Regions from separate parts of the Homo sapiens genome. Here regions 1, 2, 3, 4 and 5 are each linked to region 6. Evidence: promoter capture Hi-C in 16 types of primary human blood cells and fetal thymus (Javierre and others, 2016). All regions are on one chromosome and are shown on one strand. Each heading gives the region's core, a stretch centred on a gene start or on the middle of the fragment in contact. The rest is flanking DNA. Distances are from core to core; before and after follow the strand shown.

Region 1 (2,700 bases), core at 184-2,683, 310 kb before region 6:
CAAATAATGATAATTTAAGATCTGAGTTTGATAAAATTTTAAAGGTTGATCGAATACCTAGATTCCTGGTTCTTGGGCCTTCAGAAGGAGAGAATTTCACGTGTTAAGTCCTTATTTGGTCTTATTCAAGGGAGCAAGATTTTTTGTTTGTTTATAAACACATGCAGTATATCGTTTTACGTATTCAAGTACACATAGTACGTTCTCTGGGGAAAGCAGAAAATTGTATTGCATTTCAGCCATGTAATACCCTCACGTTCGTGTATTAAGCTGATCAATAGGGGTATTTATTTCCTTTTGTTGAGCACAGTGTTTTAACGTTTCCAAAGTGTAATTTGTTATTGTTGAAAGTCAACCATGTTACCCTATGCATACAGGCTTTTATATAATAAAACATATGGTATATATTTTTAAGTAAGCGCTTAATTTTAGAATAGATTTTAAATTTACAGAAAAAGTTTCAAAGATAATACAGAGAATTCTGATATAAACTGTGTCTACTTTCCCCTGTGATTCACATCTTACGTTACTATAGTACATTGGTTACATCTAATGAACCAGTATTGGTACATTATTGTTAAGTCCATAGTTTATTTGCCCTGACATCCTTTTTCTGTCCCAGGATCCCATCCAGGGCACGTTTCCTTTAGTCTCCGTAGCGCCTCTGATCTGGGACAGTTTCTTAGACTCGCCTTGTTTTTAATGGCTTGACAGCTTTGAGGAGCAAAACTGCTTTTCAGGTGTTTTGTAGACTGTCCCTCAGTTGAGAGTTGTCAGATGTTTTTTCATGATTAGTGTAGAGTTACCGGTTTGGGGAGGAAGGCCACCGAGGTAATGTGCCATTTTGTATCAAGGGTCCATGTGATCAGCGTGGCTTATGATGGTTGATGTTGATCTTGATCACCTGGCCCAGGTAGTGTTTGTCAGGGGACTCCACTGTCAAGTGACTCCACTGTCAAGTGACTCTTTTCCCTTCTTTCCATACTGCTGCAGTCTTTGGAAGGAGGTCATTTAAGGAAGAGGGAGTTCAGCTGTACCTCCTGTAGGGGTTGTATTTACATTAGTTATTTAGAATTCTATCTGACAGATTTATCTATTCTCCCAAAAGGGACCAAGATTTTCAGTGGGGATAGAAGGCACTGTGGCACAGACAGCCCCTTGGCACTGTTGCGGAGGAGGTGATAGGATAGGATGGTGCCCCAGCATGGGGTTTCCAGAATGTGGTCCTGGGCTGTGGAGAAATGCAAATTCCGGGGAACTGCCTGACTTCCCGCGTGGGATAGGTTGGTCTGGAATTCTTCCTGTTGCACGAGTTCCCCAGGTGATTCTGATGCATATTCAAAGTTGAGAGCCTCTGCTGTGGATTAGCACTTGAACCCCAGGTGTGCCGGCCAGGAGTCAGGCCCTCACCTCCATCCTTGCCGTTCACACCTCTTCCCTGCTGGTGGCACCTAGCTCTAAGGCTCCCCGTGTAACCACTTCTCCCACAGTTTTGACCACCTCTTGGATCTCTCCATCTGAGGCTCCCTTTGTATCAACCAAGGGTCTTTGCTTTCTGGATAACTTCATCCTTCTTTTGGTGGGCCCAGAGTTCCAGTGAAGGGAGAAACCAGTTACAGCTGAGAACCCTATTGTGGAAAGGCCAGTCAGGGCCAGAGTAGGGAGGTCCCTAGATGCCAGGCTTCTCTGAAAATGGTTTTGTCACATGTGAGAGAGAGAGAGAGGCAGAGACACCGAGACCCCACGTGGACTGTGTTCAGGTTTGAGCAAATAAAAAATCACCGAAAAATCTTCATAGTTTCTACATGTGTCATGCCTTGCGCTTTGGGACACCCCTAGCTCTTGGGCACATTCCCTGGTTGAAGTGGGAGGGCAGTGGCCTGAAGAAGTTTCTTTGGGATTGGGATCTGGGTGGCCCTCATCCTGCTTCCGCCTGAGGAAGCCCTGGTCTGTGACTGGGCTCAGGAAGTGGTCCCGACCCAGTGTCTGAGGAAGGCATTCTCCTCTCATAGATGGGGGCCAGAGTCTGCTGTGAGGCCATGCTGGTGTGCCTGCCCGCCCACCCTACTGGGCCTCTTCTGGGCAGCAGGGTTGTGCCCTACCCGGGTGCTGGGAGGTTTGGGTGTGTATGGGAGCGGTGGTATGGACGGGGCAGGCGTTGGCTCAGAAGCTGGCGTGGGGAGGGTCTTGAAGTGGTCATTTTAACTCCTGGCTGACTGACTTCCAGAGAATCTTTTTTTGGGAGGGAGAAGAGTGGCTCACCTTTCTCTTGGGTACAGAAAAAGTCAGAATTAAGGCCATTAGCCTGTTTCTCTTTCTGGTCACTGCCTTCTCCCTCCTAGTGATGGGACGATTCCAGGCTTGGGTGGAAGGCCAGGTGGGGGGACACTACTTCCTGCTCCACCCTTCCCAAACCATTATACACAGATGAGAGAGACTCTGTTGTATTCATTCACATAGATATAATTTATAATAATGCATTTTGTTTATTAAAAAATGACTGGGCCAGGCAGAGTGGCTCATAGTGGCTCATGCCTGTAATCCCAGCACTTTGGGAGGCTCAGGTGGGAGGATTGCTTGAGCCCAGGAGTTCAAGACCAGCCTGGGCAACATGGCGAAACCCTGTCTCTACAAGAAATACAAAAAAATGAGCTGGGTATGGTGGCAAGTGCCTGTAGTCCCAGCTACTTAGGAGACTGA
Region 2 (2,700 bases), core at 75-2,574, 370 kb before region 6:
CTGTAAGTGATTTCTTCTCGGTGATACCCTCCTATTTCAATTATTTAGGAAGCTAAGTAATATGCAACTGCAGCCTGAGGCTCCTGCTGTTTTATTAAACACCGGGACTTGTTATCCTGTAGTGTTATTCCGAACTCCAGTGAATAAGCTTTTCTAAATATTTTTCAAGTCAAAGAATAGACTCTTAGAAAGATTGAGGGGGTCTTAGCCAGACTGGGTGGCTTAAGCAACAGAAGTTTATTGTCTCACAGTTCTGGAAGCTAGAAGTCCGAGACCAAGATGGTGACAGAGTTGTTTTCTTCTGAGGCCCCCTGTGCCTTCACATGGTCTTCCCTCTGTGTCTTAATCTCCTCTTCTTATAAGGACACCAGTCACATTGGATTAGGACCCATGCAAAAGACCATGTTGTAACTTAATTACCTCTTTAAAGACCTTAATTCAAACAAGTTTACATTCTAAGTTACTAGGAGTTCCCAGGGCTTCAACATATGAATTTGGCATGGGAAAGGGAACACAATTCAGTCCCTAACAGAGGGTCACCTAACCTGGTCATTGCTCTAGTGCCCTTGCAGGAATGCCTTCCAAAATATCAGTCATAAAAGTAGCTGCCAGACATCTGCTTGGGTCCTTAAAAAGATGAGGAGTTCACCATTTCATAAGACAGCCCTTTCCTTTGCTGGGCAACTTTGAGTGTTGGAGTTTTTGCACATGTTGATCGAAAACAAGGATCTGTATAATATTCCCTTTTAGTTTGGTTCTTACTCCAAGAAGAGCATTGGGAGTTCTTCCCTCTCTTCTACATGTTAGCTCTTCCTTTATGAATAGACTTCACCAGCCCATTTCAGGCAAAAGAAGATGCCTTGATTGGATCCCCAACCGCAGGCACTCAGTTCTGATAATCTGATTCCCCAATTCATAGATGCTCATTACTGAAAAGCCTACAGAGGAGTTTTTCTCATTCAAAAGTGGAGAGACACATTGCTGGACCAGAATTCTCCTCCCAACACTGCATTTTCCCAGGGTGGCTTCAGTTGGAAAAGACCCCCCTCCCACACATCCCTTAAGGAACCATCCATTCCTGAGTCCCACGCAGGAATCCAGAATCGACATGCCCCTGTGTGTTCGCCAACATTTTCCTAGTGCTTTCATGTTGATGAGAGTTGAATCAATCCCATAAACCTTGGTTAATTCCCTTAGCGACTGGAAGAATAATTAACAGACAGGGCTTTGTTCTTCAGAATAGAGTATCTGCAGCAAGCTCAAACTGCACAGGCAGGCCAAGGTCACGGCAGCTGCCAGCAGATCGCCCACACTCCCAGCCATCATTATCAGCCCTGGGGAGAGCCTCTGACCTGGCAGAGCAGCGCCAAGGCTGGCGTGCATGCAGGAAATCTCCTGCTTCCTCCTGGCCTTAACCAACCTACATACCAATATTTTCCCTCACTTACATTAATTTTAATATCATGACAGTTTAAACATGTTAAAAGCATGGCTCTAATCACAATCCCACTCAAAAGCCTCCAGCGGTTTACCATTGCCTATTGAATTTAGGCAAAACTTCCAACCGTGCCTTTAGTGTTGTGCTGGTTATAATCCATTTGCCTCCCTCCACCCCACCCCATACTCATCCCAGGGCTCTAGGAGGCTGATCTCTGAGGGCAGAATTGCCTGGGCTTTCTCCCCTGTGGCTTCTGGTTGGGCTCAACCAACTGGAAGAAGCAACAAGAGATTGATGGACAAGAAGAGAAAGAGGTGGCGTTTGTCTTGCCCACAACTTCCCTGCTCAGTGCTACTGAGCAGTGACTGGATCCCCTCAAGAGCACAGCCCTGCTGGCTGGCCCCTCCTCCAGGGTTCTGCCCCTTCCTTCCCCAGATCTAGGGGTGAGGGGCTGCTCCCTATTGACACTGTCCCGATGCCTTATTATCTCTTGAGTCCCTTAATGCTGACCACAACCTCTGAATCACCAGTCTCTTGACCTGACTTTTCCTTCTAGAACAAAATGAGGATAAATGCCCCCAGGTAAATGAACCCAATCCACTTCTCCATTCTGCTCTCTGATCTTCCTAACTCGTAGCCTGAACCTCAGTTACACTTTTCTACCCGCTGTACCAAAAGTCATAAGTCTTTCAACTCTGACTGCAGAATAGAATAACTTGAAAAAAAATTAAATATCACTGTCTCAACCCCAGCCTCTGAGATTCTGACTCAGTGGACCTGGAGTGGGGAAGAACTGCATGACTGTGCACCAGCAGAGCCCGTGCCAATGGCAAGGATCTGGCTGGGCAGGGGAAGCCCCCAGCACAGGCATGGCTTGTTTAAAGCACTCCAGGTGATTCCCATATACAGCCACGACTGAGGGCCACTGTCCTATAGATCAGGTTCCCTGCCACTTTGCATTAGCACATGATTTGCCTCCTCTGTGGAATACATCCATCTGTCCTGCCCATCAGCATGTCATGCAGTCCCACCTTCAAAGCCCATCTCAGATGAGCCTTTGCATGAAGCTTTTTAAGTCTGCCCTCAACCCCATCCCAACCAGGTCCACATGTCTGTCCTTTGAAGACCAGTGGCTGTGGGATTTTTTTTCCTCTTTACTTTATATGAGAGTTGGTGACCCAGGCAGCTTTTTCACACAACGGTCTCCAATGATGCTATAGGCATGTACAAGTGAAAGACCTGAGTCCTCTCATCCAACTTCC
Region 3 (2,743 bases), core at 206-2,705, 350 kb before region 6:
CTTTGAGCTGTCATCCAATTCATCTTGCTGCTGTAAGGCAGGATCATAATTAAACTGCTCAGAGAAATGGGAATCCATGTTCACTTTAACACTCTTCAGTGAAGACTAGTTTGTGAGGACTTTATCGACAGGTCTCCTCACTTAGGGATGCATCAAGCTCCAGGTGGCTGGAATGAGAGACAGGCAGAAAAGAGCCCTGAAGGACAAGGTCTGGGGAACCTGGATGTCCTCAGGAAGGCTTTCTGACTGTGTCCCTCCCTCAAGCAGAGGAAGCAGCTCAGACACGAGAGCTGTGGGCCAGCAGGGTGACCCCCACGTGGACTGAATAATTTTCACAATGGCAACTCAGAAGATAATTTCCAGGCTGGATACATCACAGCTCCTGTAACTTCCTGCCCCTCCCACTGCCTAAATTAGAAGGGTGCCCAGCGCTGCTCCAGAGCCTATAGATGACTGTGCCAGAGTATTCCCGTGGTTTCTAGCATAACACCGCCAACGTGATCAGCTCTTTAAGACAGCACAAAAAAAGGAAGGGGTGGTCACCCTGAGCACTTCTCTTCCTCCACCTGCTGCAGAATAGTTCCTATCTCTGCTCAAATAAGTGGATGAAGTTGGGCAGATGTAAAACTGATATGGCACAGTGGAGGCCCATGAGACAGGGTGACAGAGGGGCTAAGAGGAGAGTCGGAGGAGGAAGAAGGGGGTCTTCACCTACTTTAGATTTCATTTGAAATTTTAGAAAATTTAAGCAGCTAAACACAGAACCTTACATTAAATGAATATAATACTTATTAAAATCCTGGCCGGGCACAGTGGCTCATGCCTGTAATCCTAGCACTTTGGGAGGCCAAGGTGGGTGGATCACCTGAGGTCGGAAGTTTGAGACCAGCCTGGCCAATATAGGGGAACCCCATCTCTACTAAAAATACAAAAATTAGCTGGAAGTGGTGGCGGGTGCCTGTAATCCCAGCTACTCAGGAGGCTGAGGCAGGAGAATTGCTTGAACCCGGGAGGCGGACTTCACAGTGAGCCGAGCTCGCACCACTGTATTCCAGCCTGGGCAGCAAGAGTGAAACTCTGTTTCAAAAATAAAATAAAATAAAATCCTGAGGGAGGAATACAGTCGTCCCTACGTATACTCAAGGGGTTGGTTCCAGCTTCCCTGAATATAACAAACTCAGTGCACTCTCAGGTTCCACAGATGGTCCCGTGGAACCTACCTTAAGGAAGGGTCGGCCCTCCCTCTGCATTATGTGGGTTTCACATTTCCGTGGATATTGTATTTTCTATCTGGGTTTGATTGAAAAATATCCAGATATAAGTGGACCCGTGTAGCTGAAACCTGTGTCATTCAAGAGTCAACTGTAGTTTCCTCAGCACAGAAGTAACACAGTAAATCATAAAAGAAAAATTTGACCATATAAATATTTAGCACTTTCCATGGAAAACCCAAGGCAAGAAAGCAAAGGATAGACTGGGATGAATGATAGAAAATTGCTCAACATATTTATTAAATAAAAAGAGGTCATATGAGAGCAGAAGAACATTGTAAACTTGACAGCTAAATCCCAAAGAATACAAGCAGATCATTCATGGGCAGGAAAATAGAACTAATCATCAAAATATGGGGAAAAACTCAGTGATTCTCACTTGTAATCACTGTTAGGTAAATAAAAACAACAAGGTGGCAACATTCTTTACTTTTAAAATTGAATTAACATTACGTATACATTACCCACTTCTAATCACAGTGTAGTGAAATCTGTACATTCATTGTGACTGTGTTGTGTGTTTTTTAAAGGAACTTGGAAATGTGTATAGCTTTTAAAAAATCATTTCCGTGGTCCAATAATCCCACTTATAAAATTCTAGTATAAGGGAATGTTCCCAAACATGGAAAAACATATATACAGGAAGATGATTACAAAAGAAGTTACGTGAAAACGTTAGAAAAAATGTCCAGCAGCTGGACTCTGGTATAGTCACTTAGTGGCACATTGTACACAGCAAGCAGTCATTATAACAATTAGAATGTAACATGAGAAAATATTGTTGAGTGAAACAAGTGGTGAGAAATTCTATGCAAGATAAGTGCAATGTCTTAGTCCTTTGGGGCTGCTGTAACAGAAATGCCATAAACTAGCTGGCTTAAAACAATAAACATTTATATCTCACAGTTCTGGAGCCACTGACAAATTCGGTGCCTGGTGGGGGCCCATTCCTCATAGATGGTGCCTTCTCCCTGTGTGCTCACAGGGCAGAAGGGAGAAGAAATGCACTCCTGAGCTTCTTTTATAAGGGCACTGATCCCATTCATGAGGGTTCTACCCTCATGACCTAATCACTTCACAAAGGCCCACTTCCTAACACCATCACTTTAGAGATTAGGTTTTAATACAGGAATTTTACACGGACACAGACCATGGCACATAATGGACCATGAATGTAACATGTGTTTGGAAAAAAAGACTCAAAATGAATATGCCTGTAATCCCAGCCCTTTGGGAGGCTGAGGTGGGCGGATCACCTGAGGTCAGGAGTTCAAGACCAGCCTGGTGAAACTGGTGAAACCCTGTCTCTACTAAAAATGCAAAAAAATTAGTCGAGCATAGTGACACATGCCTACAGTCCCAGCTACTCGGGAAGCTGAGGCAGGAGAATCACTTAAACCCAGGAGGCGGAGGTTGCAGTGAGCCAAGAGTGTGTCATTGCACTCCAGCTGAGGCGACAAGAGCAAAACTCT
Region 4 (2,700 bases), core at 45-2,544, 380 kb before region 6:
AAGGCAACCCTGGAGCAGAATCCTGCAGGCAGTGAGGGACTTGCAGGTATCAAAGGGCAGAGCATTGCCAAGACCGGGAAGAGCAAGTGCAGAGACTCTGGGTGGAGCTGCCTGGTCAGTTCTGGGCAAGCAAGGACATCAGTGTGGGCGGAGTATGGGGAGCAGAGATGAGAGCTTAGGAAATGGGTCAAGTGGAAACAGGAGACCTGATTAGTAGGGTCTTGTAGGGCCTGAGGAGGACGCTGCCTTCGTACTTTGAGTGAAGAGACGTCATTGCAAGACTTGGAGTGAAGAGACGTCATTGCAAGACTTGAGCAGAGCAGTGGCCTGCTCCACTGCAGGATTTAAAGAGAGTACCTGCACTGAGACTGTACTATAGGGAAGAAGGGTGAAAGCCAGGAGACCCCTTAGGAAGCTAATGCAGGATGGTGCTTGGAGCAGGGTGTAGCTGGAGAGGTCACCAAAAGTGGCCCCATTGTGGTTGTATTTTGGAGGACAGTTGCTTTAGGATATGCATTAGAAAATGCGTGAGAAGCTTACTGGCTCAGTGAGCCCTGTTCTTGCTAATGGGCAGGGGAAATTGAGGCTGGGGTTGAGAACATCCACTGGGCTTTAGGAGACCTGGGGTCCAGTCCCAGTTCAGCTCTTACCAAAGATTTTGGTGACATGATTTGAGTCAAAACCATTGATTGCTTTGAATTTCAGTTTTCTCATCTACAAGATGATAGAGGTCACTTGGACTTCAAAAACCCCATGGTTCTTTCTCATTAGTAGCCTCACGAATAAGGCCAAAGCAGCCTTTGGAATGTGTCACTGCTACTAGGATTATCTGCAATGGCAGAACACCACTGTCCCTACAGCCTTCCAGAGCAACTCTACACCACTAAATTGGAAAACCTAGAAGAAACTGATAAATTCCTATAAACATACACCCTATCAAGATTGAAACATGAAGAAATACAAAACCTGAATAGACCAATGACAAGTAACAAGATATAATAGAAGCAGCAATGAAAAGTTTGTAGGGGCCGGGAGCAGTGGCTCATGCCTGCAATCCCAGTACTTTGGAAGGCCAAAGCGGGCAGATCACTTGAGGCCAGGAGTTACAGACAAGCCTGGCCAACATGATGAAATCCAGTCTTTACTACAAATGCCAAAGGGAAAAATAATTAGCTTGGCGTGGTGGTGCATGCCTGTAATCCCAGCTACTCGGGAGGTTGAGGCACCAGAATCATTTGAACCTGGAAGGTGGAGGTTGCGGTAAGCCAAGAACACCCACTGCACTCCACCCTGGGCAATAGAGCAAGACTCTGTCTCAAAAAAAAAAAAAAGTGTATAGAGGTAAAACATTAGCCATACAAAGCCCACATTTAGTCTTAGCTATTTTTAAAAACTCCGGTTTTGGGGAAGGTAAAGAACTAGAGAAGAGACAAAGGGAATATGGGTGTAGTGGCCCCCGAATACCATGTCTTCTTGGGAGACAGGAGGTCACATCTGTGGTGGATGGGACAAGAAATTGAGATTGAAGAATGTTTGTTGACATGCAAAGGCTACCAACAGAAAAAAGGAATAGAGGGAGAACCCTCTGCGGAGAGAGTGGAGGGAAACAGGTTGTGGTGTAGGTGAGCAAAATTCTTGTGGGTTGATAAACAAAGAAATCTATGTCAAAGTCTATGATTGAGAGGTATGTTGGTGGCCACATGGGTAACCACAACCAGAACAGGTCAAAGTGATTGTCTCTGGGGAGTGGGCTGGGCCCTGGGCTTTTCCAAACCTACACAGAGCTCTGAGAGCTGTGAAGAATGAAAAAGAGATAACCCGGCTAACATCCATGAGTGCTCACTGGCTGCCAGGAATGGTGCTGTGTACTGTCCACGGCATTACATCCTGATGAACCCATCATAAATTGAAAATATTGTAAGTCAAAAATGCATGTCATACACCTAACCTACTGAACATCATAGCTTAGCCTAGCCTACCTTAAACATGCTCAGAAAACTTACGTTAACCTACAGTCAGGCCAAATCATCTAACACAAAGCCTATTTTGTAATAAAGCTTTGCATATCTCATGTACCTTATTGAATACAGTACACTGTAGAGCACAGCATCGGTGGTTTGCCCTTGTGATCGCTTGGCTGGCTGGGAGCTGTGGCTTGCTGCCGCTGCTCAGCAGTGTGAGAGGGCATTGTATTGCACAGAGTAGCCCAGGAAAAGATCAAATTGCAAAGTTTCTACTGAGTGCATATCACTGCCGCACCATCACAAAGTTGAAAAATCATGTCAGCGACCATCTGTATTCACTTACTTCATCCTTTTCCAACCCTATGAGGTAGATATTACAGACCCACACTCCCTTTTTGGAAACTCTTACGGGCAAGATAGGTTTCAGAATGCAGAATTTTTCCAATTTTAGAGTGGAAACAGGATGCATATATTGTATGTTACCCAAGCCCCGCAGCAGAGTGTGGGGCAGCACTTCAGCCACACATAATAGATGGGGATTGAAACATATGGTATTTGTAGTCACTGGGATAAATAAAGAGAATAAATAGCCTCTCACTTGATCCTGTGAGGTTTTTCCTGCAGACTCTTAGTTTCCAAACTCTTTAGATTTCAAAATCATGAAACTGTGCCCCAAAGCATTAAAGAAACTGATGACTAACAGAAATTCTGAAGCTTCTTTTATAGGGAAGTAGAT
Region 5 (2,700 bases), core at 96-2,595, 260 kb before region 6:
AACCCACTCATCACCACGAGGAAGGCACCATGCATGAGGGATCCGCCCTCGCGATGCAGACACCTCCCTTAAAGCCCCACCTCCAACACTGGGGATCAGATTTCAACATGAGAAGGAGTCAGATATTCAAACGGTAGCAACATCCTTGTTTGCCCCCATGTGTCACATACATGGGCCATGGATGATGACTGATCATCTGGAATTCCCCTTTTTTGTCGCTTGCCACCCAGTTGTCTGTTTCATCTGCTGCTTTCTCGGGGGTGAGGTGGTGTCAGTGATGTCTGTTGTGTGTATAGCACCAAGCACAGTGCTAGCAGGGGTTCAGTAAATACTTGTTGGATGAATTAACTTGAAGTCTTTCTAGAAGAGAGCAATATTGGGATGGTGAGGTTTAGCAAACCTTGTTGTCATTTTTCAAATTGATGGTTTTCCTTAGAGAAGAGATTATAGTTCCCCTAGCTTTGAAGGTCAGTCTTGGGAAAGCAAGGTTAGGCTTATTTTCTACTGTATCACAAATTAGTTTTTATCTAAGATAGTTGTTAATATAAACATTTATTCTGCTTGTCTCCATCAAATTTTTAAATTCTAAGGCAGATATTTTAGATAGCACACATGTGTTTTAGAAGTTACCTAGAAAAGTTTAGCTGCTGTTTTTTATAGGCACGTTTTCTTGCAGCAGATATCATAAATAGGCACTGCTATGTAGTCTCCTATTTGACTTTGAACTCTAATTAGGCTGAGCTCCTTAAGAAGGGCCACTTCTGTGCTGTGCCTTATGTATGTACAGCATTTGCACACAGCAGTTGTGCAATACATTTTCATTGAATACGTGTGACTGATTTCATTCTACCAACAAGGTGACTGCTATTGTCTCCAAGGAAACCTAGTTTCTGAGGTTAATTAGCAGCCTTCAATTTCTACAGCTAGGAAAGTGCGGAACTGGCATTAGCATCCAGTTTCAAAGCAAGTCCTCATGCCCCTGCATCATGTGCAGAGACATTGCCAGCTTCACACCCAGGTTAGTCGTCTTTCACACTTGTGGTCCAGTTATGAGGGTTTAGAGAATAAGGCTTTCTGGAATTGGCTCTTCTTCAGTTTCTCTTATTTTCTCTAGAGTAGTGATTCTGAATGGGGCTGGGCCTCATAACCACCTAGAAGCTTTTATAAACTGCAGATGTTCTAATTAAGTAGGTCTCAGGTAGGGTCCGTTTGGAATGAATAGTCAGCCCAGAGTCTTTCTGTTTCTGGAATATGTGGTTAAAACAGTCCTGGTTCTGGCTGTTGCATGAAAGCTGAGGATACCATGTGCCTTGTGAGTTGTGAATCTGAGTCATGGATTGCAAGACAGAGGAGTAAATTAACACGTTGAGTGCATCTCTGCCATCCCTCTCCCTCTCAGTTAGGTTTTGGCTTTGCTTGCCCATTTTTTACGGGGCAAATTATATACATAGAGGCAGTGGCGACTCTCAGGATTTACTAATTTCAAGGGTGTACTCTGTAAGGGGTTGGTTGAGTAAAATTTTGAGTCTAGAGAAAGCTTGAGATGTTTTCTGGGCCTGTTTCCTCACTGCACAAAATTTCATTGTGAAGCTGAAGTTGATCATTTCAAAATGTGTGTAAATGAACGGACCAGCGCTTTTCTTTGATGTTTGCACTGGATGAGGATTATCTGAGAAGACCTGGTGGACGAGAAAATGGGTTTGACTTTTTGCCAGATGGTCACTGAATGTCTTTTCTGTCTTTGTGCCCAGTTAAAAGGCTAGGCATGTAGGTTTTCATGCTCTTGTCTGGTTTTGGCTTTGGAAATGCTTACACAGCTAATCTGGCATTTATGATGATTTCCACTTTGAGCTCAGCAGGAGGCTCTTTGGGGATATTCAGACAGAAATGGCTTAATTGGATTTCAGCCCAGACACAGTATTTGAATGGCTTTATGGATGGCATTAATTGGGCAGCTGCCATAGGAAGTCATATATATGCTCCTGAGCTTTAGAATTTAGAATTACTCTTTGATTCTGTCCCTCTTCATTGACTGCTTGCAAATTTATTTATTGAATGAAATACTCAAGAAAACTAAACTTATAGCCTTGAAATTAAGAAATATGATATGTAAGAACCATTGTTTGGTTTTGGCATAGGTATGTTATTATCTGTATTTAAGGCTCCACGTTGATATTCATGGCCTGGCCTAGAGGCACAGTGGTGTTAGGGATTCAGTGTGTCTTAGATTGCAAACTGGGGGACAAGGATTCAATCAGGGCCTAACATGGCACTAACTGCTGCAGGGTACTGGATAGTCACAGCTGATCTTATAGATGGAACTAAGGAAGTGGAAGTTTATTGAACCATAAATGGGGGAGAAGAGTCATTTTATCCAGAGCCTGCCATGGGCCTCCCCATATGGGTATCAGGACATGAAAAAGTTGCAGTCCCTTCCCAGAGGCTCTTCCTATCTGGACAGTTTTGTAAATGACAGTTGATATTATAAAATAGTGCTTTTTATGGGCACGGAGGCCGGTCTCCTAGAAGAGAGCACGTTTGAGTTCCTTCCTGAATGGTGAGTTGGATTTGATTGCACGATGGCATTGGGAAGCTGAGGTGCAAAGATGTTCCCAGTACGGGGAGGAAATAGCAGACGCGAGGGCAAAGAGTTATGAAAGGGTCCAGCGTTTGAGGAGAATGTGGATGAACATACCTTGA
Region 6 (2,735 bases), core at 29-2,528:
GCTCACACCTGTAATCCTAACACTTTGGGAGGCCGATGCGGGTGAATCATTTGAGTTCAGGAGTTCAAGACCAGCCTGGCCAACATGGTAAAATCCCTTCTCTACTAAAAATACAAAATTAGCTGGGCCTCGTGGCACATGCCTTGTAATCCCAGCTACTCAGGAGGCTGAGGCAGGAGAATCGCTTGAACCCCGGAGTTGGAGGTTGCAGTGACTGAGATCCCATCACTGCACTCCAGCCTGGGCAACAAGAGTGAAACTCCGTCTCAGGGAGGGGAAAATAAGTGAGAACCTTGGTGAAGGAAAGAGGTAATCAGCTCAGTTCAGGGCAGATCTGAGATGGGAAGACAGGAAAGGTAATCTCACATCTCCATCCTTTTGTAGCCCAGGCCTGGAGAGAATAATTAGGTGACCCGCTCAGAGTCCGTTGGGATAAAGTTGTTCTAGTTTTTGTTCACTACGCCTCCTTTCACGTGTCCTCTACAGTTGAACAGGCCAGTTACTGGGATGCAGTTCTGCGTTTCCCTTGGGTCTCACCTTAACATCGCTCGCTGAAGTGTGCCCAGATTACAGAGCGGGCAAAGGGAAGCAGTGGTTTTGCTCACAGCTGCAGGGCACCAGGTTCCTGGTTTCTCAAAGGCTTTTCTATTGGAGAAGTTTGGGTGAGACGATTTCCCGGACTGCAGCTCTGAACCCAGACTGTGGAATCTTTCAAACTATCTCAAAAACAGCCCCGCCTAAGGCATCCTTAAGAGCAGCTCTGAACTAAGGAAATTCCAAAGCCCACTTTACAAACCAGGCAGAAGCAAGGCCCCCAAGCAGGGAGGGAGGGAGATAGGGAAGAAAGGGGTGAGGAGTAAGGGGAACAGTGGCGCGGCTGGGGCGGGCGGAGGAAGTGGGGGAGCCAAGGAGACACCCCAGCGCTGGGATCCGGCAAGTCCTCCCTCTGAGTGGCCAGGGGGCCTCGTCCCTTCTCCCGATGCCTTCTGCCCTTCCTTGGGTCTCCGGAACCCAGCTTGTCCTAACCGCTTTCGCTGCGGGCAGCGCTGGCCACGCGGCCCCCGCCGCCGGCGGTTCTCCGTGGCCAAGCATCCTTGGCCTTGGAGCCCAGGGGCTGCGTTCCCCTTGGGGCCGGGGCGGGAGAGAGGACCTCGGTGGTACTCGCCCGTGCGCTGGGCGCAGCCGCTTGGCCCTCAGCCCTCTGGCGCGGCGCCCACCCGCTGGGTCCCGCCCCGGCAGCGACGCAGGGATAACCCGCGGCCGCGCCTGCCCGCTCGCACCCCTCTCCCGCGCCCGGTTCTCCCTCGCAGCACCTCGAAGTGCGCCCCTCGCCCTCCTGCTCGCGCCCCGCCGCCATGGCTGCCTCCCCCGCGCGGCCTGCTGTCCTGGCCCTGACCGGGCTGGCGCTGCTCCTGCTCCTGTGCTGGGGCCCAGGTGAGCGGGGCGATGCCAGGCTGATTGATAGCGGCACCAGGGGTTGGCCCCATGTGGCGCTTCCATGGTGCCCGGGGAGAGCGATCGGTGATGGGGTGGCGGCGTAGGGACCCATCCTTAGCCTAGGCAGGGCCAAGGGGTGGTAGAGGACCGGGTCTGGGGTTTTGCACTCGCACAAGTGCGAAGTGGTGCCCTTGTGAGGGTGGAGAGAGTACCGGGGTCAAGGGGAGGGTCTCAGATCTCCCGGGCAACCTTGGGCAAGGAGGGCCAGGCGTCCGAAGGGTGGGCAAGTAGTGTTTCGTGGCTTAACGTAAGGGGCAAAAGGGTTGTGGGGGCTTTACGCAGCTGGTAACCCAGAGGAGGCAAATGGCACCATCACCGCCATTCCCTTCCAGGCAGTCGCTTAGCAACCAAGTTGACTTGCGCTTCCCAGCTGGGTCAAGTTGCAATTTGCAAAGCTGGGCACAGGCCTCACACCCCAGAGAGGGGAAAGGCTCTTAAAGGAGTAATGCTTAATCTTTCCTGCTTCGTGGAGCTCCCAGCGAATCGGTTGAAAACTCTGAAATTCTCTGCTCGCTCTCTGTAAAACGTGCATTCACACGCACACCCAGAATGATGGGTGCTCCGATATCTGATCGCTGGGCTCCACAGGCCCCACTTTAGGAACCATAATCTGAAGCCGTGGTTTGTCCTGAGTTACCACCTTCACTGGGTAGGAGGAACATTTATGGTTCACAAGTGGCCTCAAGGACACATGACTGCCTTTGAAGCTTACAACTAGGGGAGGCAGGGATTGTTACCTCAGAGTTACTGGTGTATGAAGTGACTTGCCCAAGAGCCTGAGACTGGCGCTGTCCCACTGCAAAGCAGCTGGGCACTGCCTAATGTAAAAGGGAGGCTCACTCGGTTGCTCAGTTTCTGTATTTTGCTCATTCGAAACAGGTATGGAAACTGAACTCGAGGTGAGAAGAGGCAGGGGACATTCAGTAGGAGCCCTGGGATGGAGCCCCGGGGTTGCTAAAACAGCAGGAGGCGTGGTGAGGTCTGTTCAGGTGGGGAGGATTATTGTTCCACCTTAGAATCACAGGCGAAGCTAATCAGTCATTTCCCGTTGTATGGTTTACCTGCCTCCCACTCTTTGTTCTTGCCACTTTAAGAAGCACATCTGGGCCGGCCTTGGTGGTTCATACCTGTAATCCCAGCACTTTGGGAGGCCGGGGGGGGGGGGGGGGCAGATCACCTGAGGTCGGGGGTTCGAGACCAGCCTGACCAACATGGAGAAACCCCGTCTCTACTAAAAA

What was found. Contacts are between HindIII fragments. The CHiCAGO score rates a contact against its expected background, and 5 or more counts as called.
Region 1: a contact is called between a fragment that was not itself captured here and the fragment with the promoter of ECRG4 in region 6, in 11 of 17 cell types (non-activated CD4 T cells, naive CD4 T cells, activated CD4 T cells and 8 more). The highest score is 20.4, in non-activated CD4 T cells.
Region 2: a fragment that was not itself captured here is called in contact with the fragment with the promoter of ECRG4 in region 6 in 5 of 17 cell types (naive CD8 T cells, non-activated CD4 T cells, activated CD4 T cells and 2 more); the score reaches 6.0 in naive CD8 T cells.
Region 3: a fragment that was not itself captured here is called in contact with the fragment with the promoter of ECRG4 in region 6 in 7 of 17 cell types (non-activated CD4 T cells, naive CD4 T cells, total CD8 T cells and 4 more); the score reaches 9.8 in non-activated CD4 T cells.
Region 4: a fragment that was not itself captured here is called in contact with the fragment with the promoter of ECRG4 in region 6 in 5 of 17 cell types (naive CD8 T cells, naive CD4 T cells, activated CD4 T cells and 2 more); the score reaches 6.9 in naive CD8 T cells.
Region 5: a fragment that was not itself captured here is called in contact with the fragment with the promoter of ECRG4 in region 6 in 7 of 17 cell types (non-activated CD4 T cells, naive CD4 T cells, total CD8 T cells and 4 more); the score reaches 11.8 in non-activated CD4 T cells.

Annotation. Positions count from the first base shown.
Region 1 is chr2:105,759,083-105,761,782 of GRCh38, forward strand. The region is part of intron 1 of NCK2 (NCK adaptor protein 2); the gene reads left to right. Among named protein-coding and RNA genes, the nearest start is that of NCK2, 16 kb to the left of the region's middle. RefSeq lists an enhancer at 1,970-2,049. The HindIII fragment of the contact is 3,292 bases long and covers 1-2,700 here.
Region 2 is chr2:105,696,708-105,699,407 of GRCh38, forward strand. No RefSeq gene overlaps it. Among named protein-coding and RNA genes, the nearest start is that of NCK2, 47 kb to the right of the region's middle. RefSeq lists a silencer at 2,121-2,300. The HindIII fragment of the contact is 2,357 bases long and covers 147-2,503 here.
Region 3 is chr2:105,718,791-105,721,533 of GRCh38, forward strand. No RefSeq gene overlaps it. Among named protein-coding and RNA genes, the nearest start is that of NCK2, 25 kb to the right of the region's middle. The HindIII fragment of the contact is 6,677 bases long and covers 1-2,743 here.
Region 4 is chr2:105,680,462-105,683,161 of GRCh38, forward strand. No RefSeq gene overlaps it. Among named protein-coding and RNA genes, the nearest start is that of NCK2, 63 kb to the right of the region's middle. The HindIII fragment of the contact is 1,522 bases long and covers 534-2,055 here.
Region 5 is chr2:105,802,644-105,805,343 of GRCh38, forward strand. All of the region lies in intron 1 of NCK2 (NCK adaptor protein 2), which reads left to right. Among named protein-coding and RNA genes, the nearest start is that of NCK2, 59 kb to the left of the region's middle. RefSeq lists enhancers at 73-362, 716-765. The HindIII fragment of the contact is 379 bases long and covers 1,157-1,535 here.
Region 6 is chr2:106,064,410-106,067,144 of GRCh38, forward strand. It overlaps ECRG4 (ECRG4 augurin precursor), which reads left to right and starts at 1,279. Exons shown (of 4, transcript NM_032411.3): 1 at 1,279-1,434. The coding sequence starts at 1,356. The HindIII fragment of the contact is 9,592 bases long and covers 1-2,202 here.